2 separate regions of the Homo sapiens genome follow, and region 1 is linked to region 2. Evidence: promoter capture Hi-C in 16 types of primary human blood cells and fetal thymus (Javierre and others, 2016). All regions are on one chromosome and are shown on one strand. The core of a region is centred on a gene start or on the middle of the fragment in contact, and the rest is flanking DNA. Distances in the headings are between cores, read along the strand shown.

The links. Contacts are between HindIII fragments. The CHiCAGO score rates a contact against its expected background, and 5 or more counts as called.
Region 1: a contact is called between a fragment that was not itself captured here and the fragment with the promoter of RNF41 in region 2, in 1 of 17 cell types (erythroblasts). The highest score is 5.3, in erythroblasts.

What each region holds. Positions count from the first base shown.
Region 1 is chr12:56,291,478-56,298,667 of GRCh38, reverse strand. All of the region lies in intron 1 of CS (citrate synthase), which reads left to right. Among named protein-coding and RNA genes, the nearest start is that of CS, 5.3 kb to the left of the region's middle. The HindIII fragment of the contact is 7,341 bases long and covers 757-7,190 here.
Region 2 is chr12:56,219,276-56,226,048 of GRCh38, reverse strand. It overlaps RNF41 (ring finger protein 41), which reads left to right and starts at 4,127. Exons shown (of 7, transcript NM_005785.4): 1 at 4,127-4,289. NABP2 (nucleic acid binding protein 2) reads right to left here and starts at 1,707. Exons shown (of 7, transcript NM_024068.4): 1 at 1,608-1,707; 2 at 1,114-1,215; 3 at 538-676; 4 at 354-425. The coding sequence starts at 1,192. RefSeq lists a silencer at 1,619-1,858 and enhancers at 2,590-2,884, 2,301-3,234, 3,716-3,935, 3,235-4,169, 4,156-4,205. The HindIII fragment of the contact is 1,612 bases long and covers 3,636-5,247 here.

The sequences.
Region 1 (7,190 bases), core at 3,178-5,677, 72 kb before region 2:
AGCATTTGGGAGATGCTTGTCTTACTTGGCTGTTGCTTCTCCTGCTGCTGGGGAAAAGGGTAAGGAAACCTCTTGGGAAATGAAGCAAGTTCTAGATAGCGTTTTGGCAGAATGGGGGACACTATAATTAGCTCATTTCTGAGCTGCTAACCCAGACCAGATAGTCTAACCCTGCAGTGAATGTGAAAAAGCCTTGGGATTTACCTATTGAATTTATTTTCCTCCTTAAGCCCATAGGGAAGCTCAGAACACTTTTGGGATGACAGAGCTACATAATTATGGTACCATTATTTTCCTGTTAGAGATGGCCTGACGATCCTAGTCACCTATCAGTTGAAAGCCATTAGAAGGCTTTTGACCCTTAAAAGTAGGTCAGGTGCAGTGGCTCACACCTGTAATCTCAGCACTTTGGGAGGCAGAGGCGGGTGGATCACCTGAGGTCGGGAATTTGAGACCAGCCTGACCAACATGGAGAAACCTCATCTCTACGAAAAATACAAAATTAGCCAGACATGGTGGCACATGCCTGTAATCATAGCTACTTGGGAGGCTGAGGCAGGAGGATCGCTCAAACCCAGGAGGCGGATGTTGTGGTGAGCCCAGATCGCTCCATTGCACTCCAGCCTGGGCAACAAGAGCGAAACTCCGTTTCAAAGAGAAAAAAAAGGGCGGGGGGGGTAGCAAAGCCCAATAATGAGTTTATTGGACTGGAAATCTCCTGAGAAATAAGCAATATGACCAGGGTACCAAGAAGCTTGTTGGCTTGTCAGCATTGCTAGCACCTGCCTGTGCTTTCTAGATTAGCCTGTGGATAATGCTAGTCATAATTGGTAATTTTACTTTTGCTAGTAAGGTAGACTTTGGGAGGCAGTAATTTCCTACCAGGGAGAACTGACTCTTACCACTTTGAGTCTCAGCGTCAGGTGTAGTTTTACTTTTCTGAGAAGAAATTTTTTTTTGTTTTGAGACAGAGTCTTACTCTGTCACTCAGGCTGGAGTGCAGTGGCGTAATCTCCGCTCACTGTAACCTCTGCCTCCCAGGCTCAAGCGATTCTCGTGACTCAGCCTCCTGAGTAGCTGGGGTTAGCAGGTGTGCACCACCACGCCCAGCTAATTTTTTGTATTTTTGGTAGAGACGGGGTTTCACCATATTGGCCAGACTGGCGAATTTTTTTAACCTTACTAGGAGACAACATGTGAATTAGTCATTGTTCTATTGTTCTACTCTCACTGTCACATAATTTAAATGTCACATAATTTAAAACACCTGAGTTAGAAGCTAATTCAGAGAGCTTTGAGATTATTTGACTTCTTGTTTATCCAAATTCATTAATGCTAAGCAATGGCCTTAGTATTATCTGTGGGTGACTCAGTTTTGTGACATCAAAAATGTCTTTTCACAGATGATCTGGGTTTGGATTTGGGCTAGGAATTGAAGTAGGGCTGCAGTTCACTTCTGGACTTTTGAAGTCAACATGCTTAACCAACCCTAGCTAAAGGGAACTGTCTCTTGAGCCACTGAAAATTGCTTCTCCAAGCTAGTATGTTTGAAACTGAGTAAATCAATTCAAAGATGTTTCTAGATTACTTCTAGACTTTTTCAAGACACTTAAATGCAAAGGAACCAATGGTTTCTTTACATTGGACTTATACCACTGTACAACATCACCTGTATAAGTCCTACTCAGAAATTGGGTTCAACAAAACCGAGTTGGTTTTGTCCTGCAAAATATTTAGTTAGGTTTTAAAGCCCAAATTTTTTAAAGGTAAGGGCTCATATCTCTGTGCCCTCACTTTGACTATCAGCCTACCCAAAGTAACGGTGATTCCTTGATACTAGAATGGCAGGGGAAGCCTTATGGGGTGTTAGTGGTGAGATGACTGCATTTGGTCTTCCCAGTGGCCTTTAGGTTGGTAGCAGGTGAATGAATGCATGGGGAGGCAGCAAGAATAGTATGGTAGGTAGCAGCGATAGAGTTGGCATTCCTGACTTAAAATCCAAGGGGCAGCAGAAGGGAAACCAGACTTGGTGGATTTCAATAAAGCCACACAATGATTCTTTCTGCCCTGTGTCAATACTTTATGCAACAGAGTAGGATGTGAAATTTAAAACCGTAATGAGGCAACTGTAGCAATAGATCTTTCTTAGCATCTGATTATCTTTCAGTTCTGGCTTCAACTGTGCTTCAACTGCACAAGTTCCTTAGTTCTCTGTTTTGGGTTTTTTTTGGGGGGTGGGGCTGGAGTGCAGTGGTGCGAACATGGCTTGCTATTACTACAGCCTCAACCTCATGGGCCCAAGCAATCCCCCCGAGTAGCTGGGACCACAGGCACGCACAGCCACGCCTGGCTAATTTTTTTGTAGTTTTTTTGGAGACAGTGTTTTGCCATGTTGTCCAGGCTGGTTTCGAACTCCTGGGCTCAAGCAATCCACCAGTCTCAGCTTCCCAAAGTGCTGAGATTACAGGCGTGAGCCACTGCACCCAGCCCTCTGTATTTCTTTTAACATGATGCTATTTTAAAAGGTCTGTAAACTCACAGTGGGCATTGTCACCTGTAATGCTTGCTTATGTTGCAGTTTCCTGGATCCTACCTTCAGATTACAATTCTGCAAAGTAGGATGGGATCTGGAAAAGTTTCTTGTAAATCCCTAAAGTGTCAGGGAGTTAAAACTTGTAAGAACTTCTTTTTTTTTTTTTTTTTTTTTTTTTTTTTTGAGACAGTTTCGCTCTGTCGCCTAGGCTAGAGTGCGGTGGCTCGATCCCGGCTCACTGCAAGATCCGCCTCTGGGGTTCACGCCATTCTCCTGCCTCAGCCTCCTGAGTAGCTGGGACTGTAGGCGCCCACCACCTCGCCCCGCTAATTTTTTGTATTTTTAGTAGAGACAGGGTTTCACCGTGTTAGCCAGGATGGTCTCGATCTCCTGACCTCGTGATCCGCCCGCCTCCACCTCCCACAGTGCTGGGATTACAGGCGTGAGCTGCCGCGCCCAGCCATAAAACTTCTACGAACTTCTAGCAGAAGTAAGGGAATAGTTTCTAATTCCTGAGAAAGTATTATGATGACAGATCCTATATTCTTTATTCACTAGTATATACTTAGTGTACACATAATAAGTAGGTGTTCAAGAATTTTTTTTTTTTCCTTGAGATGGAGTCTCGCTCTGTCACCCAGGCTGGAGTGCAGTGGTGTGATCTCGGCTCACTGCAACCTCTGCCTCCCGGGTTCAAGCTATTCTCCTGCCTCAGCCTCCCTAGTAGCTGGGACTACAGGCACATGCCACCACGCCGGGCTAATTTTTGTATTTTTAGTAGAGATGGGGTTTCACCATGTTGGCCAGGATGGTCTTGAACTCCTGACCTCGTGATCCACCCGCCTCAGCCTCCCAAAATGCTGGGATTACAGGCATGAGCCACCGTGCCCGGCCAAGAAATATTTATTAGCTAGGCATGATGGCTTATGTCTATAATTCCAGCACTTTGGGAGGCTGAGGTAGGAGGATCACTTGAGCCCAGTAGTTTGAGATCAGCCTGGCAACATAGCAAGACCTTGTCTCTTAAAAAAAAAAAAAAAGTTCATTAAATTAAAGTACAATAAGTGTTGGCCAGGCACAGTGGCTCACGCCTGTAATCCCAGCCCTTTGGGAGACTGAGGTGGGCAGATCACTTGAGGTCAGGAGTTCGAGACCAGCCTGGCCAACATGGTGAAACCCTGTCTCTACTAAAAATACAAAAATCAGCCAATCGTGGCAGCTGCCTGTAATCCCAGCTACTAGGGAAGCTGAGGCACAAGAATCACTTGAATCCGGGTGGCAGAGGTTGCTGTGAGCTGAGATCATGCCACTGCACTCCAGCCTGGGCAATAGAGTGAGACTCGTCTCAACAAAAGAACAGTAAGTGTTCCTACTGAAAGGAAAGTTTAATACTTGTGATTCCTGGCTGGGCATGGTGGCAGGCACCTATAATCCCAGCTACTCGGGAGGCTGAGGCAGGAGAATCGCTTGAACCCAGGGGGTGGAGGTTTCAGTGAGCCGAGATCGCACCACTGCACTCCAGCCTGGGTGACAGAGACTCTGTCTCAAAAAACAAAAATAGACTTGTGATTCCTTTCTGAAGATGGAAGCTGGAGGAGTATCTTTTGCAGTCCTCCTTACTGAGTGATCAGTGCATCTTTTTTTTTTTTTTTTTTTTTTTTGAGACAGAGTCTTGCTCTGTCGCCCAGGCTGGAGTACAGTGGCATGATCTCGGCTCACTGCAACCTCTGCCTCCTGGGTTCAAGCAATTGTCCTTTCTCAGCTTCCCGGTTAGCTGAGATTACAGGTGTGCGCCACCGTGCCCGACTAATTTTTGCATTTTTAGTAGAGACAGGGTTTCACCATCTTGGCCAGACTGGTCTTGAACCCCTCACCTCAGGTGATCGGCCTACCTTGGCCTCCCAAAGTGCTGGGATTACAGGCATGAGCCACTGCACCCAGCAGTGATCGGTGACTATTCACGTGAAGAGACTGTTGGAAAATGACAGTTAGGTAGAATTATTAAGGAAATGTCTGTAAGTATGAAGGAGGTCAAAGTATGAAATCTGTAGATTGCTCAGGCTTTTAAGTGGCCTGACCATGTAGTGCCAAACCGACTTCCAGTATCACCGTTGTGAAACACACACATTAAATGGCTTTAGTTCTCTGACCTGGTTCTGGGGAGAGAGGAGCCTTTGTCCTATTTGTGTTCGTGTTCTCTGAATGCAAGTTGTTCCTTCTGCATTGGAAGTGTCTGTAGTACAGGATTTTTTCCTACTGGTTATTAGTGTATTGTGTTTGCTCCATCAGCTAAGCCAGTCCTGCTGGCTTGGCAAGCTCTGATCTTTTGTTGATGAAGGACGAAGTCCCTGTTAAAATCAGGAGCTTCTTCCGCAAGGTTTTTCTGTTTTGTTTTCTAATTTTTTTTAGTATTATTATTTTGAGACGGAGTCTTGCTCTGTCACCCAGGCTGGAGTGCAATGGCGCAATCTCAGCTCACTGCAACCTCCGTCTCCCAGGTCCAGGCGATTCTGCCTCAGCCTCCCGAGTAGCTGGGACTATAGGCATGTGCCACCACGCCTGGCTAATTTTTGTATTTTTAGTAGAGATGGGGTGTCACCATGTTGGCCAGGCTGGTCTTGAACTCCTGACATCAGGTGATCCACCCACCTTGGCCTCCCAAGGTGTTGGGATTACAGGCGTGAGCCACCGTGTCCAGCCTGTTTTCTAATTTTTTAAATTATTTTTTGTAGAGACAGAGTCTTGCTTTTTAATTCAGAAATGCTGGGATTATAGGCATGAGCCACTGCGCCCAGCCTCCCCCAAGGTTTTAATGTTGGTTATGTGGATATGTGGTAGGACATATCCTGGATATGCAGAAGGACAGAGAGAGTCTGGATGTACCTAGGATGGAGAATCAAAGAAAATTTGGCTTCTTGACTGTAGGGTGAGGGTGCTAGATGTGGAACAGTGATGGTAATAGGCTAAGGAGTAAGAGGAAAATAACCTATATTGAGTAAGTGGGCTTTTTTTGTTTTGTTTTGTTTTTTGAGACAGAGTCTCCTCTGTTGCCCAGGCTGGAGTGCAGTAGCACAATCTCAGCTCACTGCAGCTTCAGCCACCTGGGTTCAAGCGATTCTTCTGCCTCAGCCTCCTGTTTGAAATGCTTGTTCCCTGGTGCTGTAAAGAAATAGCACTTGAACATAAATTTAATTAATTTAATTTAATTTACTCAGCAAGGCCTTTTTTTTTGAGACAGAGTCTCACTCTGTCGCCCAGGCTGGAGTGCAGTGGTGCGAACTCGGCTCACTGCAAGCTCTGCCTCCCAGGTTCACGCCATTCTCCTGCCTCAGCCTCCTGAGTAGCTGGGACTACAGGCGCCCGCCATGACGCCCGGCTAATTTTTTTTTTTTTTTTTTTTTTTTGTATTTTTTTAGTAGAGATGGGGTTTCACCCTGTTAGCCAGGATGGTCTCGATCTCCTGACATCATGATCCGCCTGCCTTGGCCTCCCAAAGTGCTGGGATTACAGGCGTGAGCCACCGCGCCAGGCCATCAAGGCCATTTTTATACTTTCTGCAGAAAGGGTACACGCCAGCAGTTTTGCCACGAGAGTACACCGAGCAAAGGAGACAGGGTCATTTATACCCTGATGCATCCACCCTACTGCTGTGTCCAGTTCCAGTTTCCATTGGCTGGAATGGGACCTCACATTTTGTATTTGTCCTGATTGGCTAGCAACTTAGAACTTTTTTTTTTTTTTTTTTAGACCAAGTCTTGCTCTGTCAGCCAGGCTGGAGTGCAGTGGCACAATCTCGGCTCGCTGCAGGCTTTGCCTCCCGGAGCTTCTCCTGCCTCAGCCTCCCGAGTAGCTGGGACTACAGGCACCTGCCACCACACCTGGCTAATTTTTTGTATTTTTTAATAGAGACGGGGTTTCACCATGTTAGCCAGGATGGTCTTGATCTCCTGACCCCGTGATCTGCCTGCCTTGGCCTCCCAAAGTGCTGGGATTACAGGCTTGAGCCACAGTGCCCAGCTGCAACTTAGAACTTTTTTAAAGAGGCAAAGGCAGAGGAGAACAAAGGAAGGTGTGAGTCACCATACCTGGCCTCTTTTAATTTTTATATTTTTTCATCTTACCACATTTGAGGGCTACAGCCCACCTCTATCAATAATAGCTGACTCACTAGAGGAGTTCTTGTAAGGGGTGGCAACAAATGAGCTCTTAGTGATTGTGGGGGAAAAACCTCTTCGTGATTGTGATAACGCCACCTCCACCCTATAGAGAATACTGGCTGTCAGACATTGTGAGCCAGGCCCTTGTCTTTGGAAGTAGCCCTCTCCATCTCTCCCCATGAAGGAGCTGACCTATTGAGTGAGATGACTGCCTGATTCTCCTGAGAGCTGCTGTTCCAGTAAGGTGACTCTACAGGTGGCATGCATCCAGAAGCCAAAAGCCCAACTGTCACACCTCCAGGATTAGGGGAGAATCTGGGAGGTAGAAGTTCAGGGATGATTCAGAGGTTTGTAATCTACCTGTCTCATCAATGAACATAACCTGAATGTACTGTTCAGAGCCATTCAGCAGCTTTCTTTGGCAGCCACGGGGTAGAGGAAATGAAATGTAGCCTTTGATGTTACAGTCCTCAAGCACCTCCTGTCTAGAGTCATTTGCT
Region 2 (6,773 bases), core at 2,878-5,377:
GGGAGGATCACTTCAGCCCAGGAGTTTGGGACCAGCCTGGGCAACATGGCGAAACCCCATCCCTATAAAAAATACAAAAAAATTAGCTGGGTGTGGTGAAGCACGCCTGTAGTCTCAGCTACTTGGGAGGCTGATGTGGGAGGATCACCTGACCCCGGGAGGTCAAGGCTACAGTGAGCCCAGATCATGCCACTGTACTCCAGCCTGAGCGACAGAGACTGTTTCTCAAAACAAACAAACAAACAAACAGAAAAAGTCCAGAAATGAGGCTTGGACTGCACACCCTATGCTGCCTCCTTGCAAACCCCTTTGCCCTGGTGCTTCTTCATCCCAATCCCCAAGACAGCACTTACTCTCCAATCTTCTGCAGATCACCCCCACGGCCAGTATATAGTGTCAGACAACCTTTGAAAACTGAAGCGTACCTATGGGAGGCAAAAAAAGCAAAATTCAGTACTCAGAAGTGTTATAGGGACTGTTAACCCCACTCTTGATTGTTGTTGCCTTTGGAAGGCCAGAAGTCACCAGCTGACTTACCCTTTGGTGAGCCGGATAATGTCCCCAGGCTGGATCAGATTGCCAACATCGTCCCAGACAGAGATATTGATGCTGCCTGTTTTGTCCGCCACTTTGCAGGTCCGAACCTCATGCCCGTCCTTTGTCTTGGTCACTCGGCCTGAACGGAACAGATAAATCGAGGTGGGAGGATGGTCAAATAAATGGAGTGGTATCTCTCAGAAGGATGAGATGTGGATATTGGTGGAATGAGGGAAAAGGTGTACAAACAGGGGAAAGCCCAAATCCCTGGGGCATAAAGGGTTGGGATTGTGGAAGGGGTGGTGGAGGGTGGAGGTGGGAGTTCAGGGGCCAGCACCATGGAGAGGGCCCTGAGTGGAAAGAGGCCCGCGTCGCACAGGAGGTCTAGATCTGGCAAGAGTTCTATCTACCCTATACCTGACTGCAACTTTCTGTCCCAGGGTCGAAGAGATTGGGAGTGAGGAGTGTCTTGCAGCTTGCCTTGCCATCCCCATAGCAAGTTAAGAACGCAGACAGCGTTCTTCCCCTCCTGCCCCCGACCCCCATCCCGCGAACCCGCCACCCCAGTATAGACACCTGTCTCCAGCACAATGAAGATAAGGTTCAGATTCTTGAGCCCAGGCTTGATATCCTTCACAAAGGTCTCCGTCGTCATGCTGCCTGAGCCTCGGCACCCCACTGGATGGGGAATAGAGGATGAAGGCTCAATGCTTGGATCCTTTGCCCCCATGCTCCACTTCCCAAGGCCTACCTACCCCATTAGGCTGGGGTCAGGCAGCCTCAACCCCTCTAACCCTTCTAAAAGATTAAAAAAGAACATCCCCGGAGGCCTCCAACTTCAGGATCAGAATTTGGGGGTCTCTGGACAGGCTGCTTTGGGGCTGGAAGGCCCCCTGCCGGGATGCTCTTTTAGTCTCAAGCCGCGAAGTGGCGGAGCCGACGTAGACAGGGGTAGGGAACCCGGTGCACAGCCAGGGAGTAGAATCTTACTGGCCAGATCTTCCGGAACCCTCATCCCGACAAGCCGGGACTCGGTCCATCCCCTCCCCTACCCGCAGCCCACCACCCACCCAAGCCAGCCGGCAGGACTGTGCACGCCGCTGAGCAGCCCGCAGGGGGAGCCACAGGCTCCGCTGCCGCCGGATGCTGCCCCGTGGAACGCGGGAGTGCGGACATTCCCGGAAGTTTCCCCCGGCTGGCCTCCTCCGGCCAATCAGCACCGCCCGGGCGCGCCCTGCGTCCCGCCGCCTGCCCTGCCCAGCCAATCGGGATCAGAGACTCGTGCGCCGCGAAGGGGGCGAATTTCAGGTATTAAAGGAACCTTGGAGATAGTTGGCTCTGTAGGGGGAAAAATCCACCACTAGAAGGCGCACAGGGCCCCCAGTTTTCCTTAACTTGGCTAGGGAGAATGCACTTAGGTTCTAAGACGTTTCTTTCCAAAGAGTGACACAATGGGAAAAGGAGCAAGGGCTTCGGAATCTGGCGGACAAAAGTTTGAATCCTGGCTCAATGCTTCACTTCATTTCTCGACTATTTAAACATATGTAATTCCAATTCCGCAAGGCGCGGTGGCTCACGCCTGTAATCCCAGCACGTAGGGAGGCATAGGCTGGAGGATAGCATGAGTCCAGGAGTTCCAGACCTGCCTGGGCAATATAACGAGACCCCATTCTCCACAAAAAGGGAAAAAAAGACAAAAAATATGTAATTCCATCTTACGAGAAAACGGAAGTTATATTTAAAAAAGTGCCTTGCACACAGTAGGCACACACGGTTTCCTCCCTTTTTATTGCTCTAACCGTTATCTTTGTTCCTGATTTGGGGTTCTCATCTTTAATGCACTACCCAGCTTGGTCAAGGTCTCTGGGAAAAGTGGCATTTACACCAGAGACAAAAGGCAGGCTCACCCTTCTTGGAAGAAATGGAACCTGCGACAAAGAGAGAAACATTGTTAGTCCCTTTTTTTTTTTTTTTTGAAACAGGGTCTCGCTGTGTAACCCAGGCTGGAGTGTAGTGGTGCAATCTTGGCTTACTGCAACCTCCCACCACAGCCTCCGTAGTAGCTGGTACTACAGGTTCGCACTACCACCCTCGGCTAATTTCTGTATTTTTTTTGTAGAGACAGTTTCGCCATGTTTCCCAGGCTGGTCTCGGACTCATGACCTCAAGGGATCCGCCCACCTCGTCCTCCCAAAGTGCTAGGATTACAGGCGTGAGCCGCTGCACCTGGCCATACTACTCTTCCCCGCCCCGCCCCACCGCTCCACCCCGGCAAAGGAGTCTTGCTCTGTCGCCCAGGTTGGAGTGCAGTGGCGCGATCTCGGCTCACTGCAATGCAACCTCTGCCTCCCGGGTTCAAGCGATTCTCCTGTCTCAGCCTCCCGAGTAGCTGGGATTACAGGCGCCCGCCACCACGCCCGGCTACTTTTTTTGTATTTTTAGTAGAGACGGGGTTTCACCACGTTGGCCAGCCTGGGCTCAAACTCCTGACCTCGTGATCCACCAGCCTCGGTCTCCCAAAGTGTTGGGATTAAAGGCATGAACCACCGCGCCCGGCCATACTACTCTTATCTTACTTATCTCAGAGTCCCGCTAGAAGACAGCAGAAAGGAGGCCTGAAACTTTAGTTCCTTTTGGGACCTGTCAAATTGTCCACAAAAGGTAGCTAGCTCTGTATTGTTGTGTATAAACAAATTACATAAAGATATGTGTGTATGTGTGTATTAATGTGCATTAGCATTTGCTTAGCCAATGTCCACAATAAATACCATACTATTTAATACCAGATTAGTCTAGGAAGTCATGTGATTGTAATGCCTTGGTTTGCTTAATTAATCCCTTATCTGCTCACGGAGCTCTTTAGGCTCCACATTGACTTCCCTTGGATCCCACGTTCTCTACCGCCCACATCCCCAACACCACGGTGTTGTAAGCTAAGGAAATCAAACCCCAACTCAGGAAGAGGGAAATTTTTTCTCCCTTCCTTCCTCTTAGGTGTTTCAGGGAACTCCACAAGTGTTCGGGGAGCCATCGTGGATACGGCAGGAGAGCGCCTGGGAGAGAGGCAGACAACCCGTTGAGCACCCCAGATCTAAGCTTTGCGGTCAGACTCCCTCACTCCCCACCCCGCGGCCGCCTTGTTAACTGCAATATCCATTCCCATGACAGGAGTCAAGGGGTTACGAAGCTCTGGGATGCTGACCAGGGCTCTGGAAAAGGGAGAGGGGCCGGACCCGCAGCAGGTCACGCTGCAGGCCTGCCTCTCCGCAATGATCTCGCAACAATCTGCGTCAGCTCTAAGACACAAGTCACCTGCACCCCTCCAAAGCGAAGCGTGGCCGGCCAGGCCCACACGTTTTTGCCGGGAAGAACATAGAGTTCTCCCTCCTAAATGGCTACATAGTCCTGGCTGGGACCATATAGACTCTAGACTAGACTTCCTGTCTAGAGTGGAGGCCTGGCCAGCCTTCGTCCCTCCTCGTAGGCAGCTCCTGGCTGCTGGTGTAGGGGCTGAGTTAAACAAAGAGGCGGGGTTTGGTGACGAGCTTCCGCCGGGTTGCGTAGCAGCGGTGGGCGGGGCAAAGGATCCGTCTGAGGCGGCGACGAGTGGTAGGAGTCTTCTTTCCCCTCCTTCCCCTTTCCCTTCCCTTCCCGGGAGAGGCTGGGACCCGGCACCAGGGCAGTACTGTGGCCGCTGCGGCCTCAGCTCCGACTGGGTCAGGTTGCGGAGACTCCAGGCCGCTTCCAGGGCGGTGCGTACTGCGCCTGCGCGATCTTCCACCTAAAAGAGGGTGTGGGAGGGGAGGAGGTGATGTCCCAGGGGTATTGGGGCGGGGGGTTGAAATAACTGGGGTTCAGGAGGAGGGATGGTGGTAGAGATAAAAATGTGAGAAGGGAGCAGCACTGGCGAGGAGTCGGGAGGTGAGAAGGGGGCTCTGGAGAACGGGTTGTTGGGGAAGGTCCATTGGAATAGGGGAGCTTTGAGAAGTGCGGGAGGGGGCCGGGGCTAGCTGGAGGACCGGCACCTGCAGAACTGGGGGAACAGCGTGGTGTTTAAATGGGCAATGATTGACGGGCCAGAAGGGGAGGAAGGGAGCATTCCGGGGGCCAGCCTGGGCAGGGGCGGTGGAACCTAAACCCCCGCCCTCGAAGCGCCATAGCTTGGCTCCTCTCCCATGCCTTGTCGTTGGCAGCCTTGTCCTCTCATTCCTTCCCCGCTCCTCACCCCCTCCCAGCCCTCCATGAAGGAATCTCACATTCTTCACATCCCTGCGCTTGGTTTGCAGCCTGGCTCTCTGGCAGGGTTCACACACCACACACTGGAAGGCCTTCCCTAACTCAGGACTTTGGGAAATTGGGTAGTGGGGAGGAGGGGGCTAGAGGAAGAGCAGAAAGCCAGGAGGGGTGAAGGCGTTTTGCTTGAGGGATTGACAGACTGCTTCCCCGTTCAGAAACTTCATTTCATTTAATAGCAAGTGGGGCTGTTATTGAGGCCACTGTTCTTGGGGACTGGCCCGTGATAGTGTTATCCCTTTCTATACAGGGGTTTTAGAGTCTGACAATAGGGCAAGAGACTGATAGTGTTGTTGGCTGATAGTTTTGCCCCAAATAAGAATGTAGTGGACTAGTGGTAGGGAATGTGAGTGATGCAATGTTAAGCCGACCGACCTGTGGCTAGCCCTGCCTTCTAGTAAAAAGAAGGAACAAGCTTTTGTCAAGCATTTCCTCTCCGACTCTCAGTACTCTAAATTTATTTTGCATTCTTGTTTTTTTTTTTTTTTGAAACGGAGTCTCACTCTGTCACCCACGCTGGAGTGCAGTGGCACAATCTCGGCTCAGTGCCACCTCTTTCTGGGTTCAAGCGATTCTCCTGCCTCAGCCTCTTGAATAGCTGGGATTACAGGTACCTGCCACCATGCCTGGCTAATTTTTTGTATTTTTAGTTGAGATGGGGTTTCACCATGTTGGCCAGGCTGGTCTCAAACCTCTGACTGTAGCCGGGCGCGGTGGCTCACGCCTGTAATCCTAGCACTTTGGGAGGACGAGGCGGGCGGATTGCCTGAGCTCAAAAGTTCGAGACCAGCCTGGGCAACACAGTGAAACCCCGTCTCTACTAAAAATATAAAAAATTAGCCGGGGCATGGCTGCATGCACCTGTAGTCCCAGCTACTTGGGAAGCTGAGGCAGGAGAATTGCTTGAACCCAGGAGGCAGAGGTTGCAGTGAGCTGAGATTCCACCACTGAACTCCAACCTGGGCAACAGAGTGAGACTCTGTCTCCCCACACCCCCCGCCAAAAAAAACAAAACAAAACCCTGACCTCAGGTGATTGGTCCATCTCGGCTTCCCAAAGTGCTAGGATTACAGGCATGAGCCACTGCACCCAGCCTTATTTTGTATTCTGTTGCTACAAATAATCTTACTTGAGGATAACAGTATTCAGTATCCTTTCATATTTATTTATTTATTTATTTATTTATTTATTTATTTATTTTTGAGACAGGGTCTCACTCTGTCACCCAGGCCGGAGTGCGGTGCTGCGATCTCTGCTCACTGCAACCTCTGCCTCCTCGGCTCAGTTGACCTTCCCCCTTCAGCCTCCTCAGTAGCCGGGACTACAGGCACTCACGCCATCATGCCCGGCTAATTTTTGTATTTTTTGTAGAGACAAGGTTTCACTATGTTGCCCAGGCTGGTCTCAAACTCTTGGACTCAGGTGATCCACTCACTTCGGCCTCCCAAAGTGCTGGGATTACGGGTGTGAGCCACTGCGTCCAGCCTCCTTTCGTATTTATTATTTCATTTGATTTGCAGACAGTATGTATAAGGGGTGCGCGCGTGTATATACACATATATACACACACACACATATATACACCTTATATTACGCCGGGCGCAGTGGCTCACGCCTGTAATCCCAGCACTTTGGGAGGCCAAAGGTGGTGGATCATATGAGGCCAGTTTGAGACCAGCCTGGCCAACATGTTGAAACCCTGTCTCTACTAAAATATAAAAATTGGCTGGGCGCGGTGGCTCACGCCTGTAATCCCAGCACTTTGGGAGGCCGAGGCAGGCAGATCACGAGGTCAGGAGATCAAGATCATCCTGGCTAACGTGGTGAAACCCTGTCTCTACTAAAAATAAAAAAAAAAAATTAGCTGGGCGTCCTGGCGGGCGCCTGTAGTCCCAGCTACTTGGGAGGCTGGGGCAGGAGAATGGTGTGAACCTGGGAGGCGG